2 separate regions of the Homo sapiens genome follow, and region 1 is linked to region 2. The links are contacts of gene promoters, found by promoter capture Hi-C in blood cells and fetal thymus (Javierre and others, 2016). All regions are on one chromosome and are shown on one strand. The core of a region is centred on a gene start or on the middle of the fragment in contact, and the rest is flanking DNA. Distances in the headings are between cores, read along the strand shown. Region 1 has its middle 46 kb from the start of KIFBP. Region 2 holds the start of SRGN (serglycin).

The links. The method cuts DNA at HindIII sites, captures the fragments that hold promoters and counts their contacts. A CHiCAGO score of 5 or more calls a contact.
Region 1: a fragment that was not itself captured here is called in contact with the fragment with the promoter of SRGN in region 2 in 4 of 17 cell types (monocytes, neutrophils, total CD8 T cells and 1 more); the score reaches 16.8 in monocytes.

Annotation. Positions count from the first base shown.
Region 1 is chr10:69,032,428-69,037,459 of GRCh38, forward strand. No RefSeq gene overlaps it. Among named protein-coding and RNA genes, the nearest start is that of KIFBP, 46 kb to the left of the region's middle. The HindIII fragment of the contact is 8,335 bases long and covers 1-5,032 here.
Region 2 is chr10:69,084,924-69,090,074 of GRCh38, forward strand. SRGN (serglycin) reads left to right here and starts at 3,180. Exons shown (of 3, transcript NM_002727.4): 1 at 3,180-3,313. The coding sequence starts at 3,235. RefSeq lists enhancers at 1,494-1,663, 3,311-4,510. The HindIII fragment of the contact is 21,371 bases long and covers 1-5,151 here.

The DNA.
Region 1 (5,032 bases), core at 140-2,639, 54 kb before region 2:
TTTAGAGATGAGGGTCTCACTATATTCATATTGCCCTGGATTCCTGGGTTCAAGCAATCCTCCCTCCCCAGGCTCCCAAGTAGCTGGGATTATATTTTCAAGTCACTGTGACTGGCTTTTATTTTTATTTTTTTCATTAGTTCTTCATCTGTTTGGCTTACTTATCCTTAAATTAGAATTTATTGAATGCTACTGTCTCTTTCTCTCTCTCTCACATGTGCACACATACATATACTTTTATTCATTTCCTTTTTAGTTATTTTATTATAAATAAGTACATATATACTTAATTTTTAAATTTATTATTATTATTTTGAGTTGGAGTCTCGCTCTGTTGCCCAGGCTGGAGTGCAGTGGCACGATCTCCACTCACTGCAACCTCTGCCTCCCAGGTTCAAGCGATTCTCCTGCCTTAGCCTCCTGAGTAGCTGGGACTACAAGTGCATGCCACCACGCCTGGCTAATTTTTTGTATTTTTAGTAGAGACAGGGTTTCACCATGTTAGCCAGGATGGTCTTGATCTGCTGATTTCATGATCCACCCACCTCGGCCTCCCAAAGTGCTGGGATTATAGGTGGGAGCCACCACGCCTGGCCAAGATCCATCTCCTAAAAAAAAATAAATTTAAGAAACACCCGAAATTTGGCCAGGCATGGTGGCTCATGCCTGTAATCCCAGCATTTTGGGAGGCTGAGGCGGGTGGATCACCTGAGGTCAGGAGTTCGAGACCAGCCTGGCCAACATGGTGAAACCCTGTCTCTACTAAAAATACAACAATTAGCTGGGCATGGTGGCACGCGCCTGTAATCCCAGCTACTCAGGAGGCTGAGGGAGGAGAATCACTTGAACTCGGGAAGGGGAGGTTGCAGTGAGCCGAGATCACGACATCACACTCCAGCCTGGGGGACAAGAGCAAGACTGTCTCAAAAAAAAAAAGAAACACCCCAATTTGAAAATAATAGTTGCAAGCAGTTTAAAATGAAAGTGCCAGTCCCAGTCTCTAGTACTATTGTTCCCTACTCATTCCCCTCCACCACTCCCAGGAGAAAATCTGTTTAACCGTCTTTTGGTGGTTACCTGGACATGTTGTAATAACATGTTCATATCACTATTTCTTGATTTAGCAATTTAAAACATTATCTGTTGATTTCTCCAATGATGGCAAATGATTTAATTCACTTACAACACCCCACTTCCCCTCCTCACTTCTTTCAATGTATCTCCCAATATAACACTTTTTTGTTAAACCATATATGTAATATATATACATATATCTACTTGCATATGTATAATACATATAGTAAATTTGTAGATATAGGTGTGTGTTGTTCTATTTCTTGACCACCCACTAAGATAAGAATATTAGTGCCCCTACCCTTCAAACTTCCCTTTCTTCATCAACCTCACAAATCCTCTGTATTCTCATTTATACATTGTCAGGGGTTATGCATACATTCTATTATGTGGTCATAATTATTAGTATGTCTCTTAGCCGGGCATTGTGGTGGGCACCTGTAATCACAGCTACTTGGGAGGCTGAGGCAGGAGAATTGTGTGAACCTGGGAGGTGGAGGTGGCAGTGAGCCGAGATCGTGCCACTGCCCTCCAGCCTGGGCAACAGAGTGAGACTCCTTCTCAAGAAAAAAAAAATTATTACTGTATCTCTGTCTGTAGGGAGATCCTGAAGGTTAGTAATCAATCAACAAATATTGTCTACATTATGACTGTGTATATATATATTGCCCACTGCAGAATCAAGTAAAATATACGTCACCATTATTGTTGTTGATTTGAGACAGGGTCCGTCTCTGTTACCCAGGCTGGAGTGCAGTGAGGTGATCATGGCTCACTGCAACATCAACCTCCCAGGCTCAAGTGATCTTCCCACCTCAGTCTCCCATATAGCTGAGACTATAGGCATGCACCACCACACCCGGCTAATTTATTTTTATTCTTTGTAGAGATAAAGGTCTCCCTATGTTGCACAGGCTGGTCTCCAACTCCTGGGCTCAGGCAATCCTTGCACCTTGGCCTCCCAAAGTGCTGGGATTACAGGCATGAGCCACTGTGCCCAGCCTGAAATATACTTTGATTATGTTCCTTTCCTGCACAGATTTGTGTTCTTCCTGGAGTTCCTAACTTTGCTCTTTTTCCTTTCAGTATTTGCCCTTAATATCTTCAGATTGTCAAACTCACCATCATCATAACCAATTCTATAGAGTTATTTTCTCCCCCAAAGACCTCCCTCCAGGAGCTCCCCTTCCTACTCCAGTCCGGGCTGATTGTTCTCTGACTGCTGCTCAGCTACCACCCTGGAATGTGGAGGTGGAGGTGAGATGCCTCTCTAAGAAGATGAGCTGGGGCTGGGTGAGGTGGCTCATGCCTGTAATCCCAGAACTTTGGGAGGCCAAGGTGGGCAGATCACTTGAGGTCAGGAGTTCGAGACCAGCCTGGCCAACGTGGTGAAACCCCCGTATCTATAAAAATACAAAAATTAGTAGGGCATGGTGGCAGGCACCTGTAGTCCCTGTTACTTGGGAGGCTGAGGCATGAGAATTGCTTGAACCCGGGAGGTGGAGGTTGCAGCGAGGTGAGATCACACCTGCCTGGGTGACAGAACGAGACTCTGTCTCGAAAAAAAAAAAAAGATGAGCTGGGAGGTGAGGTGCACAGTTTGGGAAGGAGGCGAGCCCTCTTGGATCTGCAAGTCAGCAGGCTCACCCAAAATGAGTCTTGTGTGTCGACACCGAGGAAAGAAGTTCACCTGGCCGAGCTGGGATGAAGGAAGAGACACATGCAGTTACGATAGGCAGAGGAAGCATGGCATGTTTTGCAGGGGAAGAGATGGAAAGACTTGGGTTAGTTTTAGCACCAAAGGCTCAGAGAGAAAAATAAGGAGATCAATCCTGGCTGAAGACACTGAAAGAAGTACTGATCAAGACAGAAGGCCCGGCTTGGTGCGGTGGCTGACACCTGTCATCCCAGCATTTTGAGAGGTTGAGGCAGGAGGATCATTTGAGCATAGAAGTTCAAGACCAGCCTGGGCAACATAGGGAGACCCCCATCTTGGAAAAAAATAATTAATTAATTAGCCAGACATGTTGGCACAGGCCTGTAGACCCAGCTACTTGGGAGGCTGAGGTGGGAGGATTACTTGAGCCTGGGAGATCGCACTATGAGGCCAGAGGGTAGATTGGGGCCAGACAGAGCAGCCCATGAAGGACCTGAATTCCGGGTGAGGAGTGTGGGCTTGTCCTGCAGGCAGGCAGGTGGAGTCACTGGCTATGCTTTAACAGAGGTGTGTTATGAACCAACTGCTGAAATACTGGATGTTTTAGTTTTCCATTTGCTGTAACAAATTACCACAAACTTGGTGGTTAAAACTACATGAATTTACTATTTTACAGTTCCGTAGTTCTGTGTAAGTCTGACATGAGTCTTAGTGGCATAAAACTTAGGTGTTGACAAGGCTGCAGGCCTCTCTGGAGGTTCTAGAGAGAGTTTTCTTACCTTCTCCAGCCTCCAGAGGCTGCCCACATTGCTTGGCTTGTGGCCCCTTCTGTCGTCTTCAAGCTGGCGAAGGCAAGTCTAGCCCCTCTCACATCACATCATTAGGACCTATCTTTTGTCTTTTGTCTTCCTCTTCCACTTCTGTGAGAAAGGACCTCTGTGATGATGTTGGGCCCACCCGGATGATCCAGGAGAATCTCTCTTTTTTAAGAGCATATGATTGGCCAGGCGCGGTGGCTAACACTTGTAATCCCAGCACTTTGGGAGGCTGAGGTAGGCGGATCATGAGGTCAGGAGATCAAGACCACGGTGAAACCCCAGCTCTACTAAAAATATAAAAAATTAGCCAGGCCTGATGGCGGGTACCTGTAGTCCCAGCTACCTGGGAGGCTGAGGCAGGAGAATGGCGTGAACCCGGGAGGCAGAGCTTGCAGTGAGCTGAGATCGTGCCACTGCACTCCAGCCTGGGCGACAGAGCTAGATTCCGTCTCAAAAAAAAAAAGGGGGGGGGGCATATGATTAGCAGCCTTAATCCATCTGCATCCCCAATTTCCCTTTGCTGTGTAAGGCAACAGTCACCATTTCTAGGAATTAGGACAATTAAGACATGGACATCTTTGGGGAGGTGGTGGTGCTATTATTCTCCCTACTACATTGTATTAGTCGGGTCTCTTTGCAAGTACAAAAGAAAGAAAGAAAAAAGAAAAGAAAAGAACCATGTATTGACTTAGATAACCGAGTGCTCAGCATCTTTCTCGCTTTACCTCTTGGATCTGCTTTCCTTGCTGTTGATTTTGGGCAGTCTCTTTCCATGAGTGGCCCTGGAGCCCCAGGCTTACATCCTACCAGCTTAGCAATGTTAACGAAGGGTCCTCTCTCCTGGTAATTTTAGCATAACCCAGGATGATGAGTATTGACTCTCACTAACCCATCTTCTGTCCAGGGCTGTCCCTGGACCAAACCCTGTGGCCTAGGAGAAATTCTCATGGGTCAGGCATGAATTTCATATGCATCCCTGAAGCTGAAACTTCAGAAGCCCCCCTAAAGCACAGGGAATGAGACCTGGGGGCTGGTGATTCCTTAGAGGAAAACTGGCAGATTGCTATCCCCAAAACAACAATGGCGGTGATAATTGCACAACAGTGTGAATATACTTAATGCCACAGAACGGTACACTTACAGATGAGTAAGGCTGGGCATGGTGGCTCATGCCTGTAATCCCAGCACTTTGGGAGGCCGAGGGGGATGGATCACTTGAGCCCAGGAGTTCAAGAACAGCCTGGTCAACATGGTGAAACCCCGACTCTACTATAAATATAAAAATTAGCTGGGTGTGGCAGTGCGTGCCTATAGTCCCAGCTACTCAGGAGGCTGAGGCAGGAGAATCGCTTGAACCTGGGAGGCAGAGATTGCAGTAAGCCATGATCACATCACTGCACTCCAGCCTGGGTGACAGAGCGAGACCCTGTCTCAAATAAATAAAAAATTGATTAAAATGTTAAACTTTATGTTACGTATATTT
Region 2 (5,151 bases), core at 1,930-4,429:
TTTTTTGTATTTTTAGTAGAGACAGGGTTTCACCATGTTATCCAGGCTAGTCTCAAACTCCTGACCTTAGGTGAGTGATCCGCCCACCTTGGCCTCCCAAAGTGCTGGTGTGAGCCACCCTGCCCTGCCGGCGACCCGTCACTTTATTAAACAACAGGAACTGATTTCTGTCATGTTCCAGGTGACTGTTAAGGAATAAGAATACTCATTTTATGGGCAAATAAACTGAATGTGAAGTAAAGTAGGTGCATCTCAGGTTGCCTGGTGAAAGAAGGATTAAGTCTGGTATAGGGTTTGTCTTTTAAAATTGTGGAAAACATGCATATCGTAGATTGACTTTTAGGGAAAGATGTGGGTCCTATTGGGTTAATGGCGGAATCTTTTGGTAAGATCATGCCCAGCCCTGAGGACTGTTGCCAATGCCTCCCTCACCACGTGTGCCATGTGCTCTTGAGGACATCCTGTCATTGGCTTCCCACACCATCATTACATCTGGAACAAAGGACGCATAAAAAGTGAGTGGCCCAGCGTGGCTCAGCTGGTAAGTGAAGGGCATGGGCTTGGACCCAGGACTTCCAGCTGCTGCAGCATGTGTCCTGCTCCCCTACAGCTTGAAGAGGGCTAAATGAGACTGGAGGACTTCTTAGAAAAAGAGACTTGATTATCAGCGTAGTGGGAGAAGAGCAAATGCTTATGAATACTGCACCTGTGCTTTAAAAGTCACCATGAGCTGGGCGTTGTGGCTTACGTCTGTAATCCCAGCACTTTGGGAGGCCGAGACAGGTGGATCACTTGAGGTCAGGAGTTCGAGGGCAGCTTGGCCAACATGACAAAAACCCCATCTGTACTAAAAAAAAGAAAAGAAAAGAAAAGAAAAGAAAGAAAGAAAAAAAATTAGTCAAATGCGTTTGCTTGAACCCAGGAGGTGGAGGTACACCCTGGGCGACAGAGAGAGAGAGGTAAAAAACAACAACAACACCATGACCCAGAGAAAGAAAGAAAAAAAATGAAGTTCCCAAATGGAAAAAGCCCCTAAAATTACCATTTTAAAACACAGCCCTAATCAGCTCTGGGGATTTGCAGGAAACTCATCGAAGCTATTGATAGGAACTATTGTTTTGGTGCCAGGGTTTTCAATTGGGAGTTAGATTTAAAAGGACCAAAGATGACATCTGATATTTCAAACAGAAACCGACATTTCTCAGTGGAAAACTTTCCGGGCCAGTGCATTTTGGGGTTGGTTACTGTGCTTGGAGACGCCCCTGAGTTGGAGGACACACTTCTGGCTGATGTGAGGGGCTTCTGAGGAGGGCCAAAATGTACACTCTTTGTGTTCTTGCACCACGGCTATTAGACTGTGAGACTCTGTCCTTAGCAGGAAATGGTAAAGGAATCAGCAGGAAGCCTAAAACAAGGGAAGGGAAACTCCTCCCTCCTATCAAAGGCCAGGCAAGGGCGAGGATGAGAATGGAAAGTGGGGCACGTGCATTAAGCCGTCTGGGGGAGCGGTAGGGATAGACATGTTGAAATGGAGAGTGGTTGAATCTTGAAAGGAAGTAAGGAAAATGTATATGCCACAAGGGCAAGGATGTATGATAGGCTTGTATTTATTGTATAACTTTATTTTATTTTATTTTATTATTTTTAGTTTTTTGAAATAGAGTCTCTCTCTGTCACCCAGGCTGGAGTGCAATGGCACGATCTTGGCTCACTGCAACCTCTGCCTCCCGGGTTCAAGCGATTCTCCTACCCCAGCCTCCCGAGTAGCTGGGACTACAGGCACTCGCCACCACGCCCGGCTAATTTTTTGTATTTTTAGTGGAGACGGGGTTTCACGGTGTTAGCCAGGATGGTCTCGATCTCCTGACCTTGTGATCCACCCACCTCAGCCTCCCAAAGTGCTGGGATTACAGGTGTGGACCACAGCACCTGGCCTTTATTGTATAACTTTAATATGGAGCCTTAGTCCTCCAGAAATCTGCACCATGCCCAGGGAAAATGCTGTTCCTTTATTTACATGAGGCAGAGGTTTGTGTTGTTTGCTGAGGTCCAGCAGCTCACTGTGAGGACAACCTCTCCCTCGTTCCTGATTTCTGGCTTATTCAAGGCCAGAGGACCCAAAACTCGAGTTGAAAATTTTGACTAGGAGAACAGATAAAAATAGAAATGGAATCCATCTTAAGAAATGCTCAATGTGAAGGAGAGGGGAATGCAAAATAGTTTTTCTGTTTTACCACAGTCTTTGTAACTGAAAATCCTATGTTCTTGAGATAGAGAGAGAGCCAATGATCCAATGCAAGAAACTGAGTTTAAGAAGAAACTGTTTGCTGGGCACGGTGGCTCACGCCTGTAATCCCAGCACTTTGGGAGGCTGAGGCAGGCGGATGGCCTGAGGTTGGGAGTTTGAGGCCAGCCTGGCCAACATGGTGACACGTCGTCTCTACTAAAAATACAAAATTAGTCCAGCGCAGTGGTGTACGCCTGTAATCCCAGCTACTCAGGAGGCTGAGGCAGGAGAATTGCTTGAACCCTGGAGATGGAGGTTGCAGTGAGCTGAGATCGCGCCACTGCTCTCCAGCCTGGGTGACAGAGTGAGACTCCATCTCAAAAAAAAAAAAAAAAAAAAAAAAAAGAAGAAAAAGAAGAAGAAGAAACTGTTCATCTGAAATCCGACAACTCATTCTTGAAGGTTAGAGCTCAGCTTTGAAGTTTCACTTCACGAGCTTGGCTCAGTGAGGTATGTTACTCCCCGGTGAAAAAGAAAATGAAGAGAATGTTTTATGTTGAAAGTGCTTGGTGACGAAAAGGCAGCACCTAGATCCCTTATCTCATAAAAAATGCAGCAGATTCTTAATATTAGCAATCTAGTGTTTAGATTGTTACCTGAAGAAAGGAAAAACAAACTGTCCCAAATGCTGATTCTACTGTTTCGGTGGGAAAAAAAAATGTCTTGCAGGCAAGTGGCAAACAACAAAACTTTTGAAAAAGCAGGCCTGGGGGGAGTCCAGTACAGTTTCATAATGGGTATGAATAGTTATTTTACTGTGTTCCCCCCACCCCCTTTCTTTCTGGGTTTTGATGTGGATGTCTTTCTATTTGTTCAGGAAATTGTGACGTGTGTTCTGGGCAGGGTTTGAGGTTTTGGAACATTTTCTAAAAGGGACAGAGAGCACCCTGCTACATTTCCTAATCAAGAAGTTGGCGTGCAGCTGGGAGAGCTAGACTAAGTTGGTCATGATGCAGAAGCTACTCAAATGCAGTCGGCTTGTCCTGGCTCTTGCCCTCATCCTGGTTCTGGAATCCTCAGTTCAAGGTAAGACTCAGGAGTCTTGTTCCCCAGCCATCTTCTCTGTAAGCCCTGTGGTCCATGCAAGTCATTATATTCATTTTAAGGCATAGAATGTATAATATTGTGAGAAAGGAGGCAAAGAAGAAGGATTTGGGGTCGCTGAACCCTTTAATATGAGTTCTGTTAAGTTTGGTACCAAGAAAAATTAAACTCTGTGGCGTGTGCAGTCTTGTAAACTCTTACAATGATTGAAATGTGCTATTTTGGGATGAAAATGTGAGGTTTATAAATTTTAAAAGCTCAAAAAAGGAATCTAGAAAATGACTCCTGTGCCTGTTGCATGGAGGAGATGGCACCTTTGACTGTTGGGGGGTGTCTGCCTACCCCTAAGTGTCTACATCAGCCCCAAGTTTTAGTGCGCTGTGACGGTGTCATTGTTATTTTAACACTGGGAGACGTTATATTCCAATTGGGGTGAATCTGACTGTGTGTATTTTCTTTTCTTTTTTTTTTTTTTAAAGATAAACTTGGTTCTTACTGAAAACTCAATTATGGTTAGACATAGTTCATGTAAAACCTCTCAGATTTTAAAGAGAAGGCCAAATAATTTGGTATTTGTGCTCTTGCTCAGAGAAGCATCATATTCGGAAATATCTTCCTAGGTTTATCTACCATTTAGTGTTGTTTAGTCAGACTGAAACAACTTAAAACCTGTAATGACTAAGACAATGAAAATGATAGGCTTGTAAGAAAAATACAATTTGTTATTCTTTGGCAAATAAGGAATCATGTCTAAATAAGACGGAGGTCATGGCTTGATAGAGAGATGGCTGAACCTATAGTAGAAAAACACTAGGTTCCGCCAAATGGTAAGGGAAATGTTGAGTCACAATGACACACATGTCCTAGATTTGTTTCGTCAAAGCGACTTTTGGTTGTCATGATCTTACTTCCGGTGGAGATGAAATCTTACAGATGATCGCAGAGACATTCATTTTATGTTGGAAATTTATAAAATCATTTTCTTCTAGTTATGCTAATGCTGAAAAAAGAGCAAGTAATGTTTCTGGAACGTTATTAATTTATGTATTTTTAAAATATAAAACATTGTCAATTGTAGGGAACAGGCTTCACTGGGATCTTTTAGGGAATATCTTCAGCTTGATGAAATAATTCCCGAATAGCCAAGTGGTCTGACAAGATCGAGAGTAATGAGGCCCATACTTTAGTACAGTCTTGAATGGCCAGATGGTGCTGGGCATACCCCAACCAGAGATATGTAAGTCTTTATGTTGTCAAAATTTCCCAGAAACATGAATTTCCCACTAAGATTCATTAAGGAAAACTAGAATGAAAACAAAAACGTTCCTTGTATAATATTCATTAGAAAGAAATGAAGAAGGCCGGGCATGGTGGCTCACGCCTGTAATCCCAGCACTTTGAGAGGCCAAGGTAGGCAGATCATGAGGTCAGGAGTTTGAGACCAGCCTGGCCAACATAGTGAAATCCCGTCTCTACCAAAAATACAAAAAAATTAGCCGGGCATGGTGGCACACACCTGTCATCCCAGCTACTCAGGAGGCTGAGGCAGGAGAATTGCTTGAACCTGGGAGGTGGAGGTTGCAGTGAGCTGAGATTGCACCACTGTACTACAGCCTAGGTGACAGTGCAAGACTCTGTCAGAAAGAAAGAAAGAGAGAGAGAGAGAAAGAAAGGAAAGAAAGAAAGAGAAGGAAAGAAAATAATTCATCATGAAATTGTATAGAATACTAGCATTTATGTCATGACCTCGTAGGTTTAGCTCTTTGTTAGAAAAGGAAACCATAGAAAGAGACAAGGGAGAAACTGACAAACTAGGGTGT